Regions from separate parts of the Homo sapiens genome. Here regions 2, 3 and 4 are each linked to region 1. The links are contacts of gene promoters, found by promoter capture Hi-C in blood cells and fetal thymus (Javierre and others, 2016). All regions are on one chromosome and are shown on one strand. The core of a region is centred on a gene start or on the middle of the fragment in contact, and the rest is flanking DNA. Distances in the headings are between cores, read along the strand shown. Region 1 holds the start of PCDH8 (protocadherin 8). Region 2 has its middle 19 kb from the start of HNRNPA1L2. Region 3 overlaps SUGT1 (SGT1 assembly cochaperone of MIS12 kinetochore complex). Region 4 overlaps SUGT1 (SGT1 assembly cochaperone of MIS12 kinetochore complex).

The links. The method cuts DNA at HindIII sites, captures the fragments that hold promoters and counts their contacts. A CHiCAGO score of 5 or more calls a contact.
Region 2: a contact is called between a fragment that was not itself captured here and the fragment with the promoter of PCDH8 in region 1, in 1 of 17 cell types (erythroblasts). The highest score is 5.3, in erythroblasts.
Region 3: a fragment that was not itself captured here is called in contact with the fragment with the promoter of PCDH8 in region 1 in 2 of 17 cell types (endothelial precursors and M0 macrophages); the score reaches 5.6 in endothelial precursors.
Region 4: a contact is called between a fragment that was not itself captured here and the fragment with the promoter of PCDH8 in region 1, in 1 of 17 cell types (M2 macrophages). The highest score is 5.4, in M2 macrophages.

The regions. Positions count from the first base shown.
Region 1 is chr13:52,845,750-52,852,600 of GRCh38, forward strand. It overlaps PCDH8 (protocadherin 8), which reads right to left and starts at 2,891. Exons shown (of 3, transcript NM_002590.4): 1 at 57-2,891. The coding sequence starts at 2,687. RefSeq lists enhancers at 1,076-1,964, 1,965-2,854, 2,985-3,279, 4,625-4,919, 5,594-5,803. The HindIII fragment of the contact is 1,116 bases long and covers 2,501-3,616 here.
Region 2 is chr13:52,620,432-52,627,282 of GRCh38, forward strand. It overlaps a transcript of HNRNPA1L2 not described here. Among named protein-coding and RNA genes, the nearest start is that of HNRNPA1L2, 19 kb to the right of the region's middle. The HindIII fragment of the contact is 3,398 bases long and covers 1,889-5,286 here.
Region 3 is chr13:52,654,208-52,661,058 of GRCh38, forward strand. It overlaps SUGT1 (SGT1 assembly cochaperone of MIS12 kinetochore complex), which reads left to right. Exons shown (of 13, transcript NM_006704.5): 3 at 3,325-3,415; 4 at 4,192-4,261; 5 at 4,972-5,042. Among named protein-coding and RNA genes, the nearest start is that of SUGT1, 4.8 kb to the left of the region's middle. The HindIII fragment of the contact is 2,415 bases long and covers 678-3,092 here.
Region 4 is chr13:52,690,434-52,697,284 of GRCh38, forward strand. It overlaps SUGT1 (SGT1 assembly cochaperone of MIS12 kinetochore complex), which reads left to right. Exons shown (of 13, transcript NM_006704.5): 13 at 1-6,851. Among named protein-coding and RNA genes, the nearest start is that of SUGT1, 41 kb to the left of the region's middle. The HindIII fragment of the contact is 3,693 bases long and covers 2,344-6,036 here.

The DNA.
Region 1 (6,851 bases), core at 1,641-4,140:
CCCCCAGCCTGTCCGCGGAGCTCGGAGGGGGGCGCCCAGCCGAAGGAAGGCCTCACCTCGGCGTGCGCGCCGCGGAGCCGCTGCTGCCCCTCGAAGTGACAGGCGCTTTCCCCAGTGGCGCTGCCGCCCTCTGAGCCCGGCACTTCGGCCGCGGCGACCGCAGGCGGAGGCGCGTCCGCCGCGGGGCTGCCAAAGGGCGCTTTGCCGGTGCCAGGGAAGGTGAGCACGTCGAACATGTTGGGCCTGGGCCCGGCTCCCCGGGCGGCCTCCTCCGGGGAGCCGGGAGCCGAGGCTCCGCCGCCCGCCGCCCCGGGCCGCTCTTCCCGGAGGGCCCCCCCTTTGCGCACCTCCTTCTTGCGGCGGTTGCAGGTGGTGGCGATGGCGATGATGGCGGCCAGCAGCAGCGTGCAGCTCCCGGCCAGCACGATGATGACGATCAGCGGCGTGTCCCATTGCAGCACCGACCCGGACACCCCGAGCCGAGAGCCAGGCGGGCGGGAACGCTCCGGGCTTCCTGCACTGGCAGGCGCAGCCGGCCCACGCCCGCCCCCTGCTGTTACCACGAAGCTGACAGTTGCGGTGGTGGTGAGCGGGGGACGGCCGCCGTCGGATATGACCAGGAGCGCCCTGAACACGCGACCGGGTGGCTCCTGCGAGAGGTCGCCGGTGAGCAGTATCTCCCCCGTGCGGCGGCCGATGGCGAAGGCTTCGCGCGGCTCCTGCTGCTGCAGCTCGAACGCCAGCTCCCCGTTGGCTCCCTCGTCTGCATCCCGGGCCTGCACACGGGCCACAACCGTGTCCTTTGCGGTGCGCCCAGGCACCGCCACTTCTAGGGAGCCATTGGCTGGCGCCGGGTGCACCAGGACTGGCGCATGGTCGTTCTGGTCCAGCACGCGCACTTGCACTAGGGCGCTGCTGGAAAGCTGAGGGGAGCCGCCGTCGCTAGCTTGGATGCGAACGTCGAGTTGGCGCAGCGTCTCATAGTCGAAGCTGCGCAGCGCGTAGATGGCTCCGGTAGCTGGGTCCACCGAGACATAAGTGGACACGGCGCCCCCGGCGCGGCCCACCTCGGCCTCCAGCAGCCGGTAGGTGACCTGGCCGTTGCGGCCCAGGTCCCGGTCGCGGGCGGCCACCGTGGCCAGGTAGGCGCCTGGCGGGTTGTTCTCGCGCACCGACACCTCATAGACCGGCCGCGTGAAGAGCGGCGCGTTGTCGTTCTCGTCGCCCACACGCACCGTGTAGGGCCGCACTGTGCGCAGCGGGGGCGCGCCGCGATCCTCGGCCACCAGCGTCAAGTTGTACTCGGCGATGCGTTCGCGGTCCAGCGACGCCGCGGTCACCACCAGGTAGCTGCCCGCGTAGGCCGGCTGCAGCCGGAAGTGCTCGTGCCCATAGAGGGCGCAGCGCACTTGCCCGTTGGCGCCCGAGTCCCTGTCCGAGGTGCTGACCAGGGCCACCAGGCTCTCGCGCGCCGCCCCCTCCGGCACCAGCGAAGTGGCACCAGCCTCCGGCGTCCCGGCTCCCGCCGGCGAGCTAGCGTCCGCTCCCCCGAGTGCAGCGGCGGCGGCGGCAGCGGCGAAGGGTGAGGTTGCCGGCGCGCCTGGGGCGGCCAGCGGGGTGATGGCGATGTCGGGTGCGTTGTCATTGACGTCTCGGATGCGCACGATGACCTTGCAGGTGGCAGCGCGGGGCCCGGGTCCGCGGTCCTGCGCCCGCACGTCCAGCTCGTAGGTGTCCTGACGCTCGTAGTCCACGGGCCCGGCCAGGGTGAGGCGGCCTGATCGCGGGTCAAGCCGAAAGAGGCGGCGCGCCTCCGGCGGGGTGCGGGCGCCAAATGCGAACACCACGTCGCCGTTAGGTCCCTCGTCGGGGTCGGCTGCGTCCAGGTCGAGAAGCAGGGAGCCCACGGGCGCGTCTTCCGCCAGCTCCACTTCGGCCACGGCGCCCTGCGGGAAGGCCGGGCTGTGGTCATTCGCATCCAGGACGCGCACGCTGAGGGCAGCCGTGGCGGAGCGCGGCGGGCGGCCGCCGTCCTGGGCCACCAGCTCCAGGCTGTAGGCGGCCTGGCTCTCGCGGTCCAGCTCCTGCAGCAGCACCAGGTCTGCGCACTGAGCGCCGTCCGCTCGCGTCTGCAGCTCCACGCGAAAGGGGCTGTGCGGCTCGGCCAGGCGCACGGTCTGCAGCCCGTTGGCGCCCACGTCCTCGTCCACCGGCACCTCCAAGGGGATGCGCGTGCCCACTGCCGCACCCTCGGACACCTCTACCGGGATCTGGGCCCTGGGGAAGCGCGGCGCGTGGTCGTTGACGTCCCTCACCTCTACCTCCACGTGCACCAGCCGGAACTGCTCCTGCGAGAAGCTGACCACATCGAAGGCCAGCACGCACTGCGGGGCCTGGCCACACAGCCGCTCGCGGTCCAGGCCGGCGTCCCCGACGGTCAGCTGCCCGTCGCCTTCGCGCACCCGGAGCAGAGAGCTGTTGAATTGCTTCATCAGGCGGAAGCTTGTGTCACCCGATACTTTCATATGCAGGTCCTCGGCCAGGGTCCCGATGACCGTGCCGGGGGCATCCTCCTCGAAGGTGCTGTATCGGACTGTTTTGCTCTGGGCCACTGAGAGCACCCAGCAGAGGCTGAAGAGCTGCAAGGGGAAAAGGCAGGGGCTGCCCCAACGCCTCACAGGACTCATGCCTCCAGCCTCAAGTGCGATCCGAAAGGCTAAGGAAGTCTTCTCTGGTTTCCAGGTCGGGCGTCAGTCTCAGGCTCTCGGAATCACGCTCTTTGCGAGCCCTGTGCGGGAGAAGTCTGCGGGTAGCAGCTCCGAGCCTCCAGCGGGCTCTGAGGACGCGCGGACCCGCCCTCACTCTGCGCCTCTCCGTCTCTTACAGAAGCTGCGCCGCCTCGCGCCGCCTTTGCCTTTATAGCCGCCGATATGCTAATCACCCGAGCCGGGTAGCCAATGGCCGCCTCCCCCTCGCGTCGCCCCTCCGCCTGCCTCTGACAATCCCTTTAATGTGGAAAGGCTTAGAGGGGAAAACAAGAAAGGAAAATTAGGGAATCTTTCTTTTGTTTAACTCCTTTTGCTTTTTCCCCCTTTTCTTGTCAGCACCCTGCATGTAGAGGAGTTGGCACAGGGCTCCAGGAGTAAAAGGAGCGGATGGTTTTGTTAATTGTCGCCTGCCTCCCTCCGTGCCGCGGCTAGAACTAAGTGCGAACACGCTGGGGTTTCACCCCAGTGGCTCCTGATTCCGCCTTCCCCCAGCCCCTGCCAACACACACACTCTGCATTTTGCACCTCTGACGCTTCCAAACCCTTGCAGCCCCCTACCCACAGACTTGCTCTGCTGAATGAGGCTCTGCTTTCCTTCTCTCCTAGCTACGGTGCCTGGAATAGCCTCTCGATTAAGAAGCCTGAAGGATAAGGGAAAATTGATTTTATTCAAATTTGTGTACTCAATTGTGTTTTGCTCGTGTGAGCCCCAGTGATCAGAGCTGCCACTTCCCTTTCAGAAAAGAGCCCCGCGATATGTTAGTATGCACGTCACTGTCCAAGTGGCCTTCTTAAGCCCTGGGAGCTAGCAGGCAAGGAAAAAAAAGTTCCAAATAGGATTTAGCATAAGCTTGAGGAGATTTGGAAAGGTTTCAAAGATCAGACTGTATCAAAGGCTTATGAAGCCCTCGTTAGCAGTGGAAATAGAATGGTGTGGCAGGCGATCCCATTGGAGGCCCCAATGTCTGTATTATTTCACTGTGACAAGCTAAGGGGAGAGAAAGTTGAACAGTTTCCACAGCGGAGTTGGACTAACTTGAATATAATGAGCAAACGCCACATGTATCCATTATGTTCCTCTATTCATCCCCAATCACTGCCATAACTCTCCGGCTAAACGGTGATGGGCGCTGAATTCCACACAATACCCGGCTCGTATTAAAGTGCATTTAGAGAACTTTTTCCTCCTGATGCCTTGTTCCGCCTATTTAGAGGATTTTCTTTCTGTTCTAATAGGGCCACTCTGGGAAGCAACACTCGTCCGGTTCCAGAAGAACAAAATCACAGCGTGACGTTGAAACCTGGCAGGAACGTGGGGGGAACTTAACCATCTGCTTAGGAAAGTGTGGAGCTTCGGCACTGCCAAAATCTGGGCTGGGCGGATCCTGGGGCTGGCCGGGCGCTGCGCTGCCCCACAGATAGCCCCCTCCCATCCCTGACGGCCAGGGAGATGGAGCTCGGATCTGCAACAAGACGGATTCTTAATGATTCTTACTGAAGGGCTTTATTGAGCAGGCTATGCAAATACACACGAAGGAGGAAAGGTAAAAAACAAAAGCCACTCACTGGAAGAAATTTTTCTTTTTAGGCGATAGGTTTGGTAAGTAGATTGAATTCAGTAAACATTCTTCAGAATCCCGATTTTGGTCCTGCTGTCAGCGTCCTATCCATGTTTTCCTTTCCCTCAAACTCGAGGGAGTGTGTTTTGGGTTTTTTTTCAGAAGAGGGTCAGGAGTTTCCTTGGAGTAGGGAGACCAAGCAGGGAGCTGGGTGGCAGGGATGAGAGGTGCTTGGAATTGTCAGAGAGCGGAACATGCAGCTCCAGCCATCCATAAATACAAGCTCTTATAAGACTGGGGAGGGGGATGATGAGTGGCTGGAGACTTCCTCAGAGGGGTGTGTCTCTGGGTTCCCTTCTCCACCTCTTCCACCTTGTAGTCTTGGGAATGCTAAAAGCAATAAGGCCAGGCATCTGCAGCCGCGTGGGGACGTGGAAGGAGGAGCGCCCCCTACAGGAGCCCAAATCGCAGCCCTTTCTTCCGCTGTCTTCCATCTCCCAAGTGCGATTTAGTATGTAGCCCTCCCACCGTCCCCGCCCAAGAGATATTCCTTGGGGGGTACACGCAGTCGAAGGAACTTTCTATTTTCCTTCCGAGCCCCGCAACACTCCCACCCCAACCTGGGGCTGGCTGGTGACCTTTAGCGCCCCTAGGCTAACGTCATCTCTCCTCACCCCTCTTCCCCCGGAGACCCAGACGGGAACAGGTTCAGAACTTGGCTGGTGGACAGCGGCCTCAGCGCTTCCGCTGGCGTACCCAGGGCAAGGTCAGGCCCGCCTGGCGCTGCTGCTGCCGGGCGGAGGACCCGGAAGGTGGGGAAAGTGGGTGGAAATGGGGCCGGAGTCCCAAAGGAAGGGATTTCAGCGGTTTCCGCGAGCACAGCCCGGCCGCGAATGGCTGGGACCCGGACCTCGCGCCAGCGCCCCCTGCGCATCTGCACCCCGCAGTTCTGGGCTGGACTCGGGAGCCCCGCCACGCGCTAAGTTTGGGTTTTTCGCTTGGCCAGAGATTCGGAACTACTTGCAATTTCTACTCAAAGTGCTTCCGCGTCAGCATGCTCATTCTCAAGGCTGAAATAAACCAAGGCGTGCTTGAAAGTGGGAAAAGGAAAGGGGAGTAGGGGCAGGCAAAAGCCAGGAGGCGGGAGGAGGGGTGTAGGGTGGCTGGTAGCAGGTCTAAAGTGTTTTTTCCGCGGCCAGGCCCTCGTCGATCGGAAGTAGCCACGACGGCGGCGGCGCCGGGAGGCTGAGAGCTGGGAGCCGGGGAGCCCGGGAAGGGAGCCGCGAGCCTCCAGCCGCCACCGGCGCGCACAGGTCTTTCCGTGCCGGCGGTGGAGGTGTGAAGGCACGCGAACACCGTGAGCTCCGGGCCGGCAGCGGACAGCCACTCGATTATGGAAATACGATTTAAAATAGCACATCAACGTCCGCAGCAACTCCCCGGGAAGGAAAATATGTCCGGGGAGGTGGCGCTGGAGAGGAGTAGGGGAAAGGGAGGGGAGCTCGCCCGCCCGGGTGCTGATCAGGCCTCACAAAAGCCGCTCGAATCGCCTTGTTATCATACCAAAAGGTCTGGGCAGGCCCAAAGGAGCCCCTTTCTCTCGGTTTTAGCAACTTCGCCGGCAACTGTCTCGCAATCTTGAGAACAAACACAGCTCCACAATGGCCGGCGTTTTCTCGGAATGCAAATGTTGCGGGCTCCGCAAAGCTGGGTTTCTGTTACCGAGCCTAATGCCGGCATTGTGAAACTCGCGTGCAAACACCAAGATTGACATGGGCGTCACGTGATGGATTAGGGCTCCAGGAAAGTTTTCAAAGAGGCGACAATGGGGGGCTCAGACTGATCTGATATCTCCCACAGTTTAGCGGGAAAGAAAATCAGGATATATTCTCATATGTAATAGGATTATCTTGTCCATTTCAAGTTCTATACAGCATGTAATTTATTTTTAATTAGGATTATATCTACCAGGAAAGGGTACTAGACTTCACTGGAAAGTGTAATTCTAAGGATGGATGAAGAGGGGTTATTTTTTAAACTTTTACTTTTTTTTTTCCTTTAAAAATAAGCCCAGGGCCCTGGTTTTTCCTCCTACAGGCTCACCATTGGGTAAACCCCTCAGGGAAGTTTGCAGCAAGTGCTTGGCCAAGCAAAGAACAGAGGAAGCTCTTCGGGGCATCTAATTCATTTTTGTAGTGAAAACACACTTTGCAAAAATCTCATCAAATTCTGAAGCCTCTGGGTTTTCTGGGGTTGGTGCACTAGAAATGCAACCAAGCTGTTTTCTACACTCCAAATTCTTTTTTTTTCTTTTTTTTTAAAGTTATCTCTCTCTGTGTGTGTATTTGTTGGGCTGTCAGTATAGGCATGGTGACTTTTAAACTGTATAGTAAACCACAAAGCAGCATTCTCCATAGCCCTGATTCAAATTCAGCAGTCAGACAATGAGACAATTTGGGGGTGAAGGTAACTGTTATTTAAACATTGATTTTGGATTGATTCCAGTGCCAGATGCTCACAAACC
Region 2 (6,851 bases), core at 2,338-4,837, 220 kb before region 1:
TAAGATTGTAAGGATTAAGTAACATAGGTAACATAGCTACTGTAATGTGGTCCCCTGATCAGCAGAATTAGCAACACCTGGGAGCTTGTTAGAAATGCAAATTCTCAAGTGTCTCCTGGAAACAGCTACTGAATCAGAGTAGTTTGGTGGGACCAAAGAATCTGTATTTTAGCAAGGAGCATAGATACTTTCTGTGGGCCAGGCACAGTGGCCCAGGCATGTAATCCCAGCACTTAGGGAAGCCTAGGTGGGTGGTGGGAGTTCTAAGTGGGCAGATCCCAGGAGTTCCTGTGCAACATGGGAAACCCATTTCTACAAAAAATTAGTCCCAACTACTCAGGAGGCTGAGGTGGGAGGATCGCCGGAGCCTGGGGAAGTCGAGGCTGCAGTGAGCCAAGATCACGCCACTGCACTCCAGCCTGTGTGACAGAGCGAGACCCTGTCTCAAAAAAAAAAAAATAATTTCTATATATATTAAAGTGTGAGAAGCAGTGCTGTAGCACATCAGCTTCATATAAGTAGGGACTATGAAATTCTTATTTACTAATATATTGTCAGTACCTAGTATAGTGCCCAGCACAGAGTAGATATTCACTATATTTAATGAATGATTTTTAAATATATTATACCCTCTTACTGAAACTAACACATTCAAAGAGTTTTTAAAGTTCTTTAGTAATCAAGTGCCAAAAGAGGTTTTTAACTCCACAGAATAAAACTGGATATTTGAGTTACTTAGAATTAGGACATCTTTTGCATGAGTCTAGTATAGATGTAATCATTTGTGGTGTTCTCTTTCATAAATGTATCTAATGAGGAAAGCAAAAATGACATTTATAGCCATCGATTATTTTCTTTTCTGTTCCATTTTAGCTTAGCTTACAAGTGGTTATGGGTTAAGTGGCATGTAGCTTGATGAGAATGTTGATCAGATTAAAACAAGACCCACTCAGTTTTTTTTAAAGTAATCTTTTTGATAGAAATTTATTTTTGTATTATTTAATTATAACTTTTTAAAGAGGTGTTATGTTAAGATCAAGGACTTGCAGTCAGTCAGATCTGGGTTTGAGAATAATAAATTGTCATTTATTAACCATGTCAGAGTTTTTCTACCGAACTCTGGGGTAAATGGTGGGAAGGAACAGATTTGGGAGCACCAGCACCCCCAGGCCTCCCCTGGCCACCCCAAGGAGCAGGTGATCAATATCTCAGCATACCTCTACTTATTTGTGGCACCCCAGTGTGTCTTAGGCCTTAATGGGCTGTGAGGTGCATGACCTTAGGTAAGTTACTTCTCTGATTTTCAGTTTCCTTATCTGCAAAATGGAGACCTTAGGGAGTTAATGTGGGTATGAGAAATGTGCATAAAACATATTGCACGAGGTTGAGGCATATAGTATGTGCTAATAAATGGTAAGTTGCTGCTGCTATGGTTGTTAATAATTATAAAAAGCAAATGGAAAGGGCTTGAATTGAAAAAAAATTTAGATACACGGTTTTTTGCTTTATTAGCCTGCATTGTATTTTTCATTTTTTTTCTTTAATGCATCTTTCCAGGACAAAAAATAATATCCAAAGATATTTTGGCACTAACGGCGCTATCTGTAGCAAGAAAGTTGAGCAGTGTGAACTGTTGAGACTTCCAAGGAGACTTCAGACAACCAAGACAGTGTAAAGGAAAACAGAGAAAAAGACTTGTTAGACATTATTAAGGGCACGAAAGTTGAATTGAGCACAGTAAATGTACAAACAACAAAGCCACCCAACAGAAGTTCACTTAAAAGCTACAACTGGCGGGCCTCAAAGAGCTTTAGGACATGCTCCAAAGAAGAGGTAAATTTAATTGTAATTTGAATGTTGTTTGAAAGTAATTTTTAAAATTCCAGTAAGCTTTTTCTTTTTGCAAAAAATGTTTTTAGTACAAGTACTTGGGAGATATTGAATTAATGAAGAAAAAAATATCAGCTAATAAACACAGGGAGTCTAATAATTACTTGAGAAATGCTGTAATTGTATTATATTTAAATAACAAGAGGATATCTGTACACAATCCAGTGAAAGGAAGAGAGAAGTGATCTCATTGAGAATTCTACACTCTTACATACTTATTGGTGTTATTAACTGCTACTTAACTGCCTCTTTAAGCTGTTAATTAACAATATCATTTACATCTTGATTTGAAGGTAGCTTCATGTCTGTAAAGGACTCACTTATTTGAAATTTTCCATTTAAAAAATTTTTTCTGGAATAAAGTTTAGCACGTTGATTACAACTGCTCTGTATGACTTCCTGTGACCAATAACTATCCGTGCTTTCAGCTTTCCTGGCTTCCTCAGAGCATTGTAATTACTTGTGCTTGTCAAAAGAGTATTTAATTCTAAGTGCAATCAGTAATATCTTGGCATTGTGTTGTAGGTTAAATGGCAGTTTTTTTTTTTAATGATACATAATGATGTATTTCAGGGATGTCATTAATTCAAGTAGTAAGGTGTGTGGCTTTAGGATACCCATCACTGACTTCCCTTATCAGAACAAACAGATAATATAGGCTTCTGTTTTCCAGAATGATTTAACATTTTAATGGAACTTCTTGGTTTCTACATGGTATCAAAAATACCTCTGGAAAGTATAATTGGGTGGTAGAGTAAGCTAATTCAGACAATCAGTACCCATAATAGGTACTTCCTCCTCGTCCTACTCTTTAGAAACAAAACAGTTACATATAAGTATGTGGAAGTAAATAACACAAACATATAAATACATATCAAGAATGGCATTTTTAAGGCTACCAGACCTGTTTATGACCCCTCATGCCCTTTATTTTAATTTAATTAACTATTACAGAAATGGTAAAGTGAGTTGAATGCTTTGGAAAGAGTCAGTAAAGGTCACGTAAACAATTTCTTTCCAATTAGGCATGAGTGAGACAAATATACATACGCAGGAGCATCATACCCTTAGATTGCTTTGTAAGCTATCTCACATTCTTGCTCCACTTTTCCACTTAAACCAAAATTGAAAATATTGCAGGATGGGTGTGATGTATGTAAAATATATGCCTTAGAACCTTTTATCAGTGGTCCTGTGTTTAAAAAAGAGGCTTTGGTCCTACATCAAAAGACTGGTGAACAAGGTGCATCTGTTTTGAGTTTTTAAAAGGTGTCTTTTAATGATTTTTGCCTCCCCTCCCCGCTTTTCAAGGACTTCCAGGATGCATGGGATTAGATGAGTCATGATCTTTGCTTCATGAGGCACTGTCATCATAGCTTCATGCATAGCCTGCTTTTCTTTCTTTGTATTATATATTAAATCCCCATTGATATGGTTACCATAGTTACACTACCTCCCAAACTTAGTGGCATAAAACATTCACTCATTATGCTCACAGATTCTGTGGGTTAGCAGTTTGGCTGGAACACAGCGGGGAAGGCCAGTCTGTGCTCTATGATGTCTGGGTCCTCAGTTGGAAGACTTAGAAATCTGAGGCTGGAATCATCTGAAGTTTGCCCACTCATAGGTCTGGCAGTTGATGCCAGCTGTCAGCTGAGACCTTAGCTGAGGGTGTTAGCAGAAACACCTACATGTGGCTTTCTTTGTGGCCTGGGCTTTCTCACCGCATGGTGGCTGGGTTCCAGGGTGGGTGTCTCAAGAGAAAGTGAGCCAAGAGGAAGTTGTATTTTGTTTTGTTTTGTTTTGTTTTTGAGATGGAGTCTCGCTCTGTCACCCAGGCTGGAGTGCAGTGGCGCGGTCTTGGCTCACTGCTATCTCCACCTCCTGGGTTCAAGCAGTTCTCTGCCTCAGCCTCCCGAGTAGCTGGGATTACAGGTGCCTGCCACCATGCCTGGCAAATTTTTGTATTTTTAGTAGAGATGGGGTTTCACCATGTTGGCCAGGCTGGTCTTGAACTCCTGACTTTGTGATCCACCCTCCTCGGCCTCCCCAAGTGCTGGGATTACAGGCACGCCACCGTGCCTGGCCAGTTGTATTTTCTTTTTAATGACCTAGCCTTGTAATAAGATTGGACATTACCATGTTTACCCTCTTCCACATTGATTTTCCTAGGATATTTGTTTTTACCACAACCACTTCTGAGACACCGTCTTAACAAGGATAATGTCATTGATAGGAATGGAGTAATATACATTTGGCCCTCTGTATGCGTAGGTTCTGCATCCACAGATAACTTCTGATAACGTTTTTTAAGAAACACAGAAAAAAATACCAATTAAAAAATACAGTATAACAACTACTTATGTAGCATTTGTTATATTAGGTATTACAAGTAATCTAGAGATGATTTAAAAGTATTCTCGAGGGGCCTGGAGCAGTGGCTCATGCCTGTAATCCCAGCACTTTGGGAGGCCAAGGTGGGCAGATCACTTGAGGTTAGGAGCTGAGACCTACCTGATCGACATGGTGAAACCCTGTGTCTATCACAAAAATACAAAAATTAGCCGGGTGTGGTGGCATGGGACTGTAATCGCAGTTACTCGGGAGGCTGAGGTGGGAGAATCCCTTGAACCCGGGAGGTGGACAATGCAGTGAGCCGAGATTGTGCCAGTGCACTCCAGCATGGGCAACAGAGTGAGACCCTATCTCAAAATAAAAAAAAAAGTTATGAAGGGGAAAAGTATGTATTCATGAAATAGTTTTAATTACAGGATTGAATAGATTGTTAAAAGATACTTTTTTTTTTTTTGAGATGGAGTCTTGCTGTTTTTTGCCCAGGCTGGAGTGCAGTGGTGTGATCTCGGCTTACTGCAACCTCCGCCTTCTAGGTTGAAGCGATTCTCCTTCCTCAGCCTCCTGAGTAGCTGGGATTACAGGTGCACTCCACAATGCCTGGCTAATTTTTTTGGTTTTAGTAGAGATGGGGTTTCACCATGTTGACCAGGCTGGCCTCGAACTCCTGACCTCAGGTGATCCACCTGCCTCGGCCTCCTAAAGTGCTGGGATTACTGCCATGAGCCACCACGAAGCCCTGAAAGATACTTTAACAAGTTCTCATTACATTGTTAAAATCTATGAAGAAAGATCCTTGTATGTAAAAATTATCTTGTTCAATGACACAGGCTCCCTACAATTTTTATTAATTAGAACTTTATAAATTATAAAGCCAGAGACTATAACTATGAAGGAAATTATTGTTATGAAATGCATGATTCTGAAAAATGAATATTCACCTATGTTCTGTGCCTACTCTGATCAAATACATATATTAAAATTTGAAAATGAAGTTTACAAGTGGTTTATGAAAGAAATAACAATGATGTGGAATACGGTTAAAGCTTTATTCACAGATAACAGTTCTGAAAGTACATTTCATTTTAACTATTATATTTCCTTTTTTCTTTTTCTTTTTTTGAGACAGGGTGTTGCTCTGTGGCCCATTCTGGAGTGTGGTGGAACAATCATCACTCACTGCAGCCTCAACCTCCCAGGCTCAAGTGATCCTTCCACTCAACCTCTCAAGTAGCTGGGACTGTAGGCATGTGCCACCACTCCTGGCTAATTTTTTTTTTTCTTTTTGTGGAGATGGGGTTTTGCCATCTTGCCCAGGCTGGTCTTGAACTCTTGAGCTCAAGCGATCCTCCCTCCTTGGCCTCCCAGAGTGCTGGAATTACAGGCATGAGCCACCATGCTGAACCCCTTTTTTCATTCTTCTATTTTTCTTCCATTCCTATCAGATTTTAGATCTTCCATATATATCTCAATTAAGTCCTTAAAATCTTTCTCCAAGAACTTTAGGAATTTGGGAGCTTTAATTTGAATATTAGGTAATAGATCATAATACAGAAAGCCAGGCATAATAAAATATTAATTTGGGTCCCACTTATTGAGATGGCAGTTCTCAGTGAGTTTAAAAATGTCGCAAATAGCCAGGTATGGTGACAGATGCCTGTAGTCCAAGCTACTCAGGAAGATGATGTGGGAGGATTGCTTGAACCCAGGACTTCGAGGCCAGACTTCACGACATACTGAGATCCCATCTCTTAAAAAAAAAAAAAAAAAAGGAAACAATGTTGTATACAGTTTACTTTCTTTTCATAATAGGATGTTTTTATATTAACTTGCTCTAATTTATTTAGGAAGCTTTTAAAAGCTTTTTCTTATGAAAAATTTAAAATATACGCAAAGTACGCAAAATGGTACAGTGAACCCCTTTATACTGTCACCCAGCTTCAACAATGATCAACATTTTACTATTCTTGTATTATATATACCTTCACCCAGTTTTCATCTCCTACTTGATAATGATTGATGGCTTTTTTTTTTCAGGTAAAATTTACATACATTAAAGTGTACAAATCTTAGCTGGAGGATTTTGACAAATGGATAAGCCCATGTGACCCACACACTTAACCAAGACACTGTGTTTCCCATTTTCACCTTCCCAGTTAGTAGCCTTCTGTCCTGAGGCAATTGTTGTCTTGATTGTTTTTTCACCTCAGATTAGTTTTGCCTGTTCTGGCACTTGACAGCAATGGAATCATACAGAATATATTCTGTGTCCAACTTCTTTCACTTGCTCTAATATCTGTGAGAATCATTCATGTTGGCATGAGCTGAGTACTCTTCCATTGTTTGGATATCTGACAATTTGTTTTTTCATTCTAACAACAGACCTTAGGTTGGTTCCAGTTTGGGGCTATTATGAGTAAAGCTTCTGTGAACAGGTTAAGCTGCCTTAATATTTGCTTGCAATATATATTGTTTTTGAAATACAATAGCATCTAATTGAAAATTCCACTAATTTATAATTTTTGAGGCTGATCCCTCATCCCTCCACCTTAATATATTGTTCTGAATTAGCATTTCAAAGTTTATATAAAACTGGTACCTAATAGTTG
Region 3 (6,851 bases), core at 635-3,134, 190 kb before region 1:
ACCTTTAGATACTGGGAGTAAGGCTTCTGGGATGAGTTTGGGGATAATGTTACAGGAAGCACTGAGAATTTTTCTCCATAATTTCTTGTATTAGCTAGACAGCTATGACTTTTAATTTACATTTGTTATTGTCGTGTTAGACCTAGTGCTTCCTTTGGGAATCCAGTTTATATAAAAGTTGCTTTTAAACAGTATTAACATAATGAATTTTATTGTCACTTTCCATCTTCTTTTACTTTAAAAATTTTTATGGAGGCATATATGATTTATGTAAATAACACAGATTTTAAGTCTATAGTTTGATGAGTTTTCACATGTTTACACCACCAGATTAAGATACAGAGTATCTCCATTCATAATGCTCCTTAATGCGCCTTCTCAGCCAGTAATTCTTCTTACTGTCCTGCTGACTCCTGCTTTGACCTCCATCACCATCAGTTAGTTTTGTTTGTTCTTGACTCATAAACAGAATCATACAGTAGGTGCTTTATTGAATGTAGACACTCTTTTTGCTTTAATGATTACATAAGTATACATTCATATTGTGTGAAGTAGTAGTTCTTTCGCATTGCTGTGTAATATTCCATTGTATAAATATATGTTGTATAGCCGTAAGTACGGCGCAATTTATTCTAACAGTGGACATCTGGGTTATTTCTAGTTATTAGCTAACAAAAAGCTTCTGTGAATACTCTTGTACATGTATTTTGGTGAACACATGCATTTCTTTTGGTTGTATGTACCTAGGAGAAGAATTGCCTAGGATAGTCATGTGGCTAGTATTAGTACCTTGGTTTTTAATGTATGGCTCTTGGACCAGCATTATCAGCATCACCTGGCAATTCATTAGAAGTGCAGCCGGGCGCGGTGGCTCACGCCTATAGTCCCAGCACTCTGGGAGGCCGAGGCAGGCGGATCACGAGGTCAGGAATTCGAGACCAGCCTGGCCAACATGGTGAAACCCCGTCTCTATTAAAAATACAAAAAATTAGCCGGGCATGGTGGTGGGCAGCCGTAATCAGCTACCTGCGAGGCTGAGGCAGGAGAATCACTTGAACCCTGGAGGTGGAGGTTACAGTGAGCTGAGATCGCGCCATTGCACTCCAGCCCAGGCGACAGTGAGGCCAGGCCATCAAAGGCATTAAATCCCAGCACAGGGTTTTCAGTTTTATCATATGATTATGGAGATCCGTCAAGAATTTGGAGGAAGGAAAATGAAATTTTCTGAATTACAAAACCTACTTTAAAAGCAGAGTAGATAGCGAATTGGAGGAGGCACAAGGGATAGTGGATAGCAGGAAGATGGTAGTGCAGACCGGGTCAAAGATGAATATTTGCATGTAGGGCAGTGATTGAGGGCATGGAGGTGAGTTGTTTTATGTAAAATGCACCGGACTTGGTGACGATTAGAATATAAGGGATGTCTCCTGAGTTTCTGGCTGGGGGAATGTTGTAGGAACTGGTGCCATTCATTTAGATAGCACTTAGGATGATAGCACTTAGAAGATTGCCTTCAGCATGGGGGAATAGGTTTGAGGATAGAAAGTAGTTTTAGATTGTGAATATTTGTATATGAGTTGCCTCTGGGACATTTCAGGTAAAGTTTAGAGAAAACTATATGCTGATGTTGCCCAGGACCACTGTCTAGGCTCAAGATAGACTTGAGTCATCAGCATGCATCAACACATATGTGAAGCCCCCCAGTAGTTAAGGAATCAAAGAATGTTTGTAGAGGGGAAGAAGTCTTAAGTACTGAGCCCAAGGAGAACATTAGTTTTTAAGAGGCAGCAGAATGGTAAGCTGAAAGGCCTGGTTATTATTGTCAAGGGCCACAGAGAGATCAAGTCAGATAGGAATCAGTTGGATTTTATAAGGGGTTATTAGTGACTTTGAGAAGATTAAGACTAGAGAGGCAAATATTTTTGTATTCTATGGCAAAGGAGATGCAGTCAAAGTAGAGACTGGGGAAAAGGCTGAAAAAAGTCTGCAAGAAGAAAAATCAATACTTTTCATTGAGTGATTACTGGATGTCACATACAGATCTAGGCAAGCCCAACACCCTGGAGTCATCTTCAGTTTCTCTTATCCCACATGTTCACCCATTAGCAAGTCTCTCTGCTTCTAATATGTTCCAACTTAATCGTATTTCTTTTCATCACCTCTGTGGCTAACATCCTTTTCTAGCCTAGACTTAATGTAATAGTTTCCTAAGAAGTCTCCGTTTCCAGTCTTGATTTGATAATGTATTTACCATACTGCAGCCAGAATGACATTAAAAAAAAGTAAATTGGACCATGTTCCCCTTACTAACAGTGAACTTTCCATGGCTTTCCATCAAACGTAAGGTCCAAATTCCTTATAACTGCCTGCAAGCTACAAAGTGAGGCCCTTAAAGTAGCATCTTACAGCTTCTTTGCTCTCTTGATTTGAGCCTTACTTTCTGTTGATTGACTGTAACCCCATGTGAGTTGAGGAGCATCTGTATATGTTGCTTTCTGAGAGTCACACTACTAGGTTAAAGCAAAGTCAATGATACATGTGGCTCTTGAAATAATTTTACCATTTAAGAAAACTACCAAATCCCTAGAGTTTGTAGGCAGTTGGCAGAAAATAAAAGTGTTCCTGCACTTGTCTTTGATCTCCCTAATTGTGTAATCTCTTACATCATTATTTTTCCAGCTACCACACCTATATGTTGTGACTGCACAAGTTAAAAAAGTTTCAATCTCTAATGTTAACTCTTGGTAGTTGACATAGCCATCTATTAGATTGTATCTGGGCTTTGAACAGAATATTTAGTTGGGTTTTATTAGAGTTGTGTGCTATTGTTAGAGGCTAGGAGAGGGCCAGGTACACTTGATTGTGTATGTATTGATTGTCTTAACCTCCCTGAGTGCTAGATTTAACTTCTGGTCTTTTTTTATTGCACAGCTTAACATTTTCTAGGAATCTCAAATTCTATATGGTGTTTGAATCTTCTTCAAATTAGTAGGAGGAAATCTGTAATGGTCAATGTGTAACAATTAAACTCTTCAGAATATATGAGCTGATAATAATGATCATTTATTAAGTTCTATAGACCAGGAACTAAAAGCTTTACGGTACAGAGATGCTACATTAGATTGCCTACTTTTGGGAGGAGGGGCAAGAGAAGTGGGGGAGATATTGATCCTTTTATAAGGAAAAACTCCAATATTATATCCGTGTTATCTTTCCTCCAAATAGCTTCTGACAATAAGTTACTTGATTAAAAATTATGTTTTAATTAGAATTTGATGGCTTCTTACAAACTTTTACTGACGCTCCACATGTTTGTTTTTGTAGGAGCTGACTAAGGCTTTGGAACAGAAACCAGATGATGCACAGTATTATTGTCAAAGAGCTTATTGTCACATTCTTCTTGGGAATTACTGTGGTAACGTTTCTTATAAAGTATATTGCCCCCTTTTAATAAGTTACTTATACATTTTACCCATGACAAATTAAAAGTTGTCTTTGAGAATTTTTAAATTGGTCTTTTATACAAGGTAAAGTAGCTCAAATGTGACAGACATGTTGAGCAACACCCATTTAAATTTTATGGATGTCGCTTTTTCCTTCATTGGGTGGAGAATGTATACAGATTTCATTCATAGTTATTGGGTATGCTGATAAAAAATAGCATCACATTTACTATTTGACAGACTATTAAAATGAAATGCTCGTTTAAATTTTTTTTATAAAAAAGAATGTGGCCAGGCATGGTGGCTCACGCCTGTAATCCCAACACTTTGGGAGACCAAAGCAGGAGGATCATTTGAGCCCAGGAGTTCAAGACCAGCCTGGGCAACATAACAAGACCACCTGTATTTAAAAAGTAATGTATTTCTGTATTTTGTACCTTCTGAATAGGGAAAAACTGAATACCTTGAGTAAAATTACATAGAAAATGTTAATGAGACAAGGAGGTGAATTTTGTGACACAGCTGTATTCATTGAAGAGCTTTAAGAAGGAAGCTAAATGTTAAGCCAAAAGGAAGGTACAAGAGTAATATTTATTTGAATTCTATCTTGTATTAGCTTTTCCTAATTTAAAACCATTTGGCATTTCTACCAACTTGAAAACTTAGAAATCTAAAACTGATTCATATGTTGTGTGTATTTGCTAGGATCTATAAATAACTGACTAAAAACCCGTCTTTTTCTACACAGTTGCTGTTGCTGATGCAAAGAAGTCTCTAGAACTCAATCCAAATAATTCCACTGCTATGCTGAGAAAAGGGTATGCAGTAGCTACTCTTCTTGTTGAGCTTGGTATAGATAGTAGGTATTTAATTTGTTGAATGAGTTCATTGCAAGCTTTATATAAGTTGTAAAATTCTGTATTTATACATTATATAGCAGAGATATGATTCAATTTTAAATACAACTTATAGTTCTATTATTTTGTTAACCAAAGTATGTGATAGGAGATCTGTACTTAGTAAATTTTAAAATAGTGATGATTGAAGTATTTGCAAGGTATAGATGAAACTGATAGATTTCACATTGCTTTTTTTTTTTTTTTTTTCAATCTTTTGGAATTTACTATATTTAATTGACTGGACAACATCCTATTCAGCAAAGCTGAATAGGCTACATTTAATGCTATGAAAGCGCTATATCTGTATACTTTATATCCCATCTTGTTTCTGTTGATAAGTATAACTATTCTTTAAGAAACTTCTTTAATTCCTTTGTATAATTATATTTTTGAGTAAGCAAGTCTGTACAATTAAAGTCAGATTCCTTCTGAAGTGAGTTCTAAAATTGAATTTTAGTAGGAATTGTACTAGATCTTAACAGTATATTAGAAAGTCTCTAGGTTTATTAACATACACTTAAAATAAATTTTTTCTTTCAACAGTAGAAAATACTAAGTTTTTTATTTAGAAAGAAGGTATTTTCCAGATTTTTTGTGTGTCTTAATTTGTTTTAAATATATTCATGCAGAATATGTGAATACCATGAAAAAAACTATGCTGCTGCCCTAGAAACTTTTACAGAAGGACAAAAATTAGATAGTAAGTATTAAAAATTATACTTTAATAAACTTATCTATTTCTGTCTTAAATACCAAAGCTGAATTTTGGTAATGTTAATTTCAAGTTAATTGTAGAAACCCAATACCTGTTTTTCTCATCTAAATTATATTTCATATTGATTGCAGATATGAGATCACTTAAAATCGATTAAATTAGCCTTTTGGCATTTAAATCATAGATGAACTTCACCATTAGAAGTAAAAAAAACTATGGAAACACCTAACATGCTCTCTCTGTTTAGTCTGGCTTTGTTTTTTTCTAATGGAGAAGTGAAAGTTTAATTTGCCTTGGTCAGAAGTCTGTTCATTTTAAATTATTCAGATTGCTGAGATGTGAAATCTTAACATTAAAGGTTTTTATGGAGAAGTGAAGTGTACGTTTGGGTAAATTATGAGAGGGTACAGAAGAAACACAGTTTTGAGAGTATTGTGACTTTTAATGTTATATTCTTGAGGGAATATATGAAAAGTATCACAGTGGTGTGGATATCTAGACATATAGAAATTGTGAGAGTCAAGAATATATATATATATATATATATATATTTTTTTTTTTTTTTTTTTTTTTTTTTTTTTTGAGACGGAGTCTCACTCTGTCGCCCAGGCTGGAGTGCAGTGGCGCGATCTCGACTCACTGCAAGCTCTGCCTCCCGGGTTCACGCCATTCTTCTGCCTCAGCCCCCCGAGTAGCTGGGACTACAGGCGACCACCACCACGCCCGGCCAATTTTTTTGTATTTTTAGTAGAGATGGGGTTTCACCATGTTAGCCAGGATGGTCTCAATCTCCTGACCTTGTGATCCACCCTCCTCGGCCTCCCAAAGTGCTGGGATTACAGGCATGAGCCACTGCACCCAGCCGAGAGCCAAGAATTTTTAAATCTGAAAAATACTAAGAGGTTGTGAGTAATTTCAGAAAATTGGAGACTACATAATCCTACTTGTATTATCATTTTATCTTTATGTTATGATAGAGTTTTATCACAGTTCTCTAAAGAAGTGGTTCTTAACTGGAAACGGTTTTGCTTCCCAGGAAACTTTATGCAATGTCTGAAGAGATTTTTGATAATCATGAATGGTGGATGGGGGTTGTGCTACTGACATCTAATGAGTATAAACCAGGGGTGCTACTAAATATTCTATAATGCCCAGGACAGTTCTGCCTAACAAAGAAGTATATGGTCCAAAATGTCAGTAGTGCTGAAATTAAGAAACTTCACTCTTAGTATTTTATGTTACATTCTTACTCTGTACTGTTTTGAATGTTTGCCTTTCTGTTGTGTACCTATTCAGAAAAAAGGATTTTAGCACTGATTATGCAAATGGAAGCTACAAATTAAAAAAGGAGAGGTCTGGGTGATAAGGCTTATTCTCAAACTTGCTTATCCCAGTTTTGGTATGTGAATAGTAGGCCTATTCAGTCAGCAAACAGGACATCTGCACTCTTAGCAAATTCTAGAGTGAAGTTATGTAGTGCCTTGGTACCTAATGTGAAAATCCTGAAGAAACATGAGTCATACCATTCTCTACATTTTCATTTTTCTTTCTTTTTTTAGCGAGAGAAGGTCTCGCTCTGTCGCCCAGGCTGGAGTGCAGTGGTGCGATCTTGGGTCACTGCAGCCTCCACCTCTTGGGCTCAAGTGATCCTCCCACCTCAGCCTCCTGAGTAACTGGGGCTACAGGCACATGCCACCACACCTGACTAATTTTTGCATTTTATTTTTTGCAGAGATGGGGATTTGCCATGTTGCCCAGGCTGGTCTTGAACTCCTGGACTCAAGCGTTCTGCCT
Region 4 (6,851 bases), core at 2,940-5,439, 150 kb before region 1:
TTTGTTTCTTCAGAATGTATGTATTTTTCCTCTTAAATGTTTCCTTTCCCTTTTAAGGTTAGTCCTGGAATACATGTTTTTCTTGGTCTTGTAGACTTCATCTCTTCTGATTTCCATAATAATTTGCACCTTGATGAATCCAGAATTCTCCCACTGTCTTCAAAGAATCTTGAATAGAATAATCTGCTTTTTGAACTCTGCTATCTAGTAATCTCTTTAGATATCTATACCACAAGTTTGAAACATCAAGGTCAATTTTGATAATTTCCTGTCTTATGTCTTAATACCCATTCAGAGTTGACTGCCAACTAACAAGCTCAGCCTTTAGCACTGGCACTTACTGGCCAATCTGTTTTCTGTCTATAGGGAGTGAAATGGAATGGAGAAAGAGGATGGCTTGCATTAATAACTCTAGTTTTTAAAAACATTTTTATTCCTTTTTTAAAAATTTGTTTAGAGACACGGTCTTCTTCTATCACCTAGGCTGGAGTGCAGTGGTGCGATCATGGCTCACTGTAGCCTCCAACTCCTAGGCTCAAGTAATCCTCTTTCCTCGGCTTCCCAAAGTGCTGGGATTACAGGTGTGAGTCACTGTGCCTGGCCCACATTTTCATTCTTGGCTCACTGTAGCCTTAATCTTTCAGGCTCAAATGATTCTCCCATCTCAGCCTCCCAAGTAGCTGGGACCACAGGCATGCATCACCACGACTGGCTAATTTTTGTATTTTTTTTGTAGAACCGGGTTTCACCATGTGCCCAGGCTGGTCTTGAACTTCTGGGCTCAAGTTATCTACCTGCCTCAGCCTACCCAAAGTGCTGGGATTACAGGAGTGAGCCACCATGCCCAGTTATGAACTTCAAGTAAATATTTAAAATGGAGATACATCACAATGCTATTATGAATAATTTAGATAGAAATTTTAATTTAGTTCAGTACTTAAATATTTTTTGGCTCTTCTTTCCCACTTTACCTTTCTCTATTCCTTCCTCAGTTATCTACATATCAGATTAGATTATTGATATCTGAGATATATCACTGACCCAGAGCAAAATTGCATATTAGTTTACCATCTAATCAGCCTAATGCACTTAAATTCCCTTGGAATCTTTCCTGTTCAGATTGGTGTGCATCTCTCTGAACTTGTAGCTTTACTGACATTTCCAAAAAAAGGTAGACGGTTTCTAGGTGGTGTGTGTTTTTGTTAGTTACTAGAGCCACTTACCCTTTGTAACTAGCTCTAAAGAAGTACATCTTTTGCTCATACCTGCTACTGTAACCATATGACAGTATGGATTTAAGTTATTTCTGCCTAGAGGAATTAGATGATAAAAGCTAAAAGGACAAAATACTGGTTTCTGTGCAGGGAAGGGTCATATGTAGTTTTAAATAAAAGGGTTCATCTCTTTTGATGTGGTTTCCCTTTCTCCATCTGTGCATTTTTTAAATCGTAAGATCATTTTACACACACCAAGAGATTTTATTTTGGGAACTTGTGGGGAAAATATTGATTTACCTACAAATGTTACTATTTGGAGCCATCCTTGTGATTGGTTTCTGAGATTAATTTAACTCTTAGCCTCACTTCCTACCTTAGTAAAGTTGCTCCTCCAAATCAGCTAAAATCATATACAATGAATGCTGACTCATTACTGCAAATAGTGGTAGTTACTGTGTACTAGCATTTCTTATGGATTGGGTGGCATTATCTCATTTTTAATCGCCCTTCAATAGCATCCCATTATTGCAAATCAGAAAGATGATGGGGCCAAAGTAAAGTTCTTTGCCCAGGTCACTCTACTAGTAAGTAATTGCAATAGCTGGGATTTGAACCCAGGCCTATCAGACTCCATTACCCATACTTCTGACAACTGCAATCCTCTCATCAGGTTAATAAGCTAGATGTGGAATGAATGATTTTTATTACCAAATCAGCTGACTGGAAATGAAGCAGAGAATATTCAAGTTAAAGAACTAATTCTTTTTTTTTTTTTTTTTGAGACAGTCTCACTCTGTCGTTCAGGGAAGGAATGCAGTGGTGCAATCTTGGCTCACTGCAACCTCCACCTCCCAGGTTCAAGTAATTCTTCTGCCTCAGCCTCCTGAGTAGCTGGGATTACAGGCATGGGCCGCCATGCCCAGCTAATTTTTGTATTTTTAGTAGAGACGAGGTTTCACCATGTTGGTCAGGCTGGTCTTGAACTCCTGACCTCATGATCCGCCCACCTTGGCCTCCCAAAATGCTGGGATTATAGGCGTGAGCCACTGTGCCCAGCCAAGAACTAATTCTTATATAGGAGCTGGGAAGATAAATTCCTAGAGATCCTCACTTTCTTAAGTAGGAAAGCTTATTAGGAATCCAAATCTTTTGCCTCATACTGGAAGTAATGCAAAGAAGTAGTCTGATTTTTGAGAGGGTGCTGTTTTTCTCAAATCTAGATCATTACAGAGAAACAGTGTACTTTTAACAACTGTTGCATGTGTAAGAAGACTGGTACATGATGCCAATGAAATTCTTTTTTTCCTTTAACTTGGGAGCTCTCATACCAGTTCCGTTGTACAAATGCTGAGATTGTTTCAAGGTTTTATTCCTACAGACATGTTAGGATTTGTGTATCACTGATTTCTCCAATAAAATTTGAATATTTCAGGTTATTTCCTTTTTCCTAACTTATGTTAGCATTTTGTATATATATATATATTTGAATTTTGGCTTGTCTGGAGTCTTAAATATTTGGTATGCCTTCACATTTGGATTTTTAGTTTTATTTTTACATTGAGACTTCTACCTATATCATTGACTTTATTTTTTCCTATGATTAAAGGATTCAGTTATACAAAAAGATGTTTCAGAAACACTGCTATTTACCTAAAGGTAATTTTCAGTTTCTTTAGAAGGAGTTAGGAAAATGGTCCTTAATACCTATATAGGGTTTTTTAAAAAACTGTACCCTATAATGCAGCCACAGAAGATCTAAATAATAAACAATTGCGCATACTATTAATATATATTTAGAGCTTTTGTTAAGTACATGAAAAGACAGTATTGCATAGTGGTTAAATGCATGGACTCTGAAGCCATCCTGTTTGGGATCATCCTGGCTACATTGCTTACTAGCTGTGTGACAATGGATATAGGTGCTTAATGTCTCTGTGCCTCAGTTTTTGTGTCTATGTAAAGGAGATAATAGGATCCCCCTCATGCCTCATGGTCTTAGTTGAATGAATTCATGTAACTCCACAGGTATCTTAATCCAGAAGGCTCAAAATACTAATGTTTTGTGTGTGTGTGTGTGTGTGCATGTGCATCTGTATGACAAGTGATATAAAACGTGACCTGAATTTATAATATGAATAGTCACATTTTGCAGCAGAAATATTAAATGTTTAATTATAGAATGCTAGCACTGATCCTGCTGAAATTGTTACAAAATACAGCAGTTGCCCCTTAACTGTGGCAGATACATTCCAAGACCCCCAGTACTGAATGCTGTATGTACATTTTTTATACATGTATACTTATGATAAAGTTTATAAATTAGGCACAGTAAGATATTAATAATAGAATATACAATATACCGCAATAAAACTTATGTGAACAGTTATTTTTGGACAGCAGTTGACTGTGGGTCACTGAAATTGTGGAAAGCAAAACCATGGATAAAGGGGAACTATTAATAGTCTATCTGTATTGCATTATCTTCTAAAATCCAAAATTCTGACTTCAAAAACTCATCTGAGGGTTTTGGAATTGTGTATCTATGTGTGTGAAGTGCAAAGAGCAGTGCTTCATGTGACAGATAACATCAGATGATCCTAGGCTGGAAGGTGGAAATCCTAGAGAAGATTTTTTTGTGTTGTAAGTTCAGTCTTTCAAGATGTGGAATTCTGTCTGAGGAAAGTATATCACCTAGTTAACAATTGTTACTGTAATTTATAAAATTTGTACTTTGGAGAGCATAAGAATTCATGAAAAGTTTTTAATAATTTTACTTAAACAGAGCTTAATTATGTAAGTATTGTCAGCACTTTATAAAGAATCGTAAAATAAAATAGTGGCAGAAAATATAAACTAGATGTAGAATGTTAAGGAACTTTCGGAAGTTCTCTGGTTTTCATTTCAATTTCAAAGCTCAAAACAGAAGGTAAAACTATTAGGATTTGTGAAAAATACAAGGTACAAAATCACGCAGTTTATAAACCACAGATTGTCTTGTTATTCCCATCAGTGAAAAGAAGCTGATATTTGTTTGTGTTTGTTTTTGTTTTTGTTTTTGAGACGGAGTCTTGCTCTGTCGCCCAGGCTGGAGTGCAGTGGCGCCATTTTGGCTCACTGCAAGCTCCGCCTCCCGGTTCACGCCATTCTCATGCCTCAGCCTCCCAAGTAGCTGGGACTACAGGCGTCCGCCACCATGCCCGGCTAATTTTTTGTATTTTTAGTAGAGACAAGAGTTTCACCGTGTTAGCCAGGATGGTCTCATCTCCTGATCTTGTGACCCGCCCGCCTCGGCCTCCCAAAGTGCTGGGATTACAGGCGTGAGCCACCATGCCCAGCCTGCTGGTAGATGTTTTTATGAGTTAATTCATCAATCTTATTATTCTTGCCCCAAATGAATCAGTGTGGAGCATATACAAGTGTGTAGACATTAATATGGGCTCACTGTCAGCTGGGAGTTCTCACAACTACCACTTTTTACTGATTATCTGTTTTCTAAACTTTTTCTGTGGCTTGAAGTGACTGAAAGTGAACACATTCATAAGTAATGAGCTTAGGCTGAGGATATATATCCAGTGGGGGATGAAACATGCTTAAGAAATTGAGTGCATTTCCTTTATTATTGTTATTATTTTGCTATTTCAAAACAATTGACTTTAAAAAATTATACTTCACCACAGAGACAGGTGTTGTTTTGTAATGGAAGGAGTAGTAACTTATGAATCTAGACTCTTAAAATCCCAGTTCTGATACTTTCATAATTGTGTGTTTTGAGGGCAAGTGACTTATCTGAACTTTTTTCTTTTTTATAACACTGGATGATAATTAACCCTCAGGATTGTGAGGATTTAATAACTAAGTCCTGACTCAAATTATGTTACCAATAAATGCTACTTAAATGTAAAGTCCTTGATTTATTTTTTCCCCTCAGTCCTGTTTAGTGTTGAAATTCTTCAAAGGAGGGTGAGTCTGGCATTTACCTGCTATTCAAGAGTTTTCAGAATTCAACCCCAGCCAAAATTTTTGGCCACATCTCTTGTCACTGCTTTGCTGTGTACTAAAGCTCCCAGACACACAAGAATCTTCTAGTCATGGTCAAACTTTTTCTGCAAAGGGCACTTACAGTCTATTGCATATTCTTTGTTTTTAGTGTTCAGACATCTGCTGTTTCTGAATATGTCGTGTATTTTCATTCCTTTTTCTGCCCCTCCTGGGCATCTCCAGTTTCCTACTGATGTGTCAAAACTGAGTTTGTATGCTACCTCCAGGAAAGCAGTCTAATCTTTTGCAACTCTGTTACTGACTTTTGTGGCATTGGATTGGGTTATTTGCTTATGGTTGAGACATCACTGGATCCTTTGATGGAGTCATACCAAAACCACAACATGTCATGAGCATGCTTGAGAGTGCTAATCTATTCCTTGTTTGTCAGACCAGTACATTACAGTTGGTTCATTTCTTCCCCCGTGTGACTGAGTTTCTTGAGGGCGCGGTCTAGCTTCCATCTTTGTATGTGTAGCACCTGGTACATAGAGAACAGGCTCCCAGAATTGGATGGATTTGCTCATGGTCTTATCACTGCACAGAATGCCCTTATTTTCTTCCATTCATTCTATGAGATCTCAATTAAAATGTCAGTACTCTTGTGGAACTCCCCTCTCCATGCCCTCTACTGAAATGCATTGCCACTCTAGTTGTGATGTGGGAGTGCCTTGTTTATGCCTCTATTTATGACACCTTCATGGTGTCACATGTTATAGGGTTAGTTGCGGCTGTGTCTGTTTTACCTTGTGTGTCTTGGTCAGTTAGTGTTATTTACTTAAGCTTTGGATCTTTGATACATAGCGTAGTGCCTTTCACATAGTATGTACTCAAATATTGGAAGTTACTCATCCCAAACCATAGTGTTTAAAATTGGGGTTTTTTAAAAATGTCAAGCCCTTAAAGTTGATCATTTATTTGTCAATGTAAATAGAATAGTAATTTGTTTTCAAAAAGATGAGGTCTTGCTGTGGTGCTCAGGCTGGAGTGCAGTGGCTGTTCACAGGCGTGATAATTGTGTGTTACAGCCTCAAAGTCCAGGGCTCGAGTGATCTTCTCACTTCAGCCTCCTGAGTAGCTGAGACTAGGCGTGCACCACCGTTTCTGACAGGATTTTAATTTTTAAGTAGGTTTTTAACCCACAGCCACGAGAGCTAATTTTAACTACATTGTTAGAGGTAGTAACAGTTATATAACTAATCAAAACCAGTGTGATATCCAAGTACTTTTTTTTTTTTTTTTTTTTGCTATTTAATTTTGAGATACCATTTTTTGGAGGGGTGTCCTGATTTATTTTATTTATTTTATTTATTTATTTTTATTTTTTATTTTTTTAGATAAGGTCTTGCTCTTGCCCAGGCTGGAATGTAATGGCATGGTCGCAGCTCACTGCAGCCTCCGTCTTCTGGGCTCAAGCAATCCTCCTTCCTCAGCCTCCTGAGTAGCTGGGACTACAGGTGTGTGCCACCACTCCCAGCTAATTTTTAAATTTTGTGTAGAGATGGGGTCTCCCTGCATTGCCCAGGTTGGTCTCTCAAACTCCTGGGTTCAAGCAGTCCTCCCACCTTGGCCTCCCAAAGTGTTGGGATTATAGGC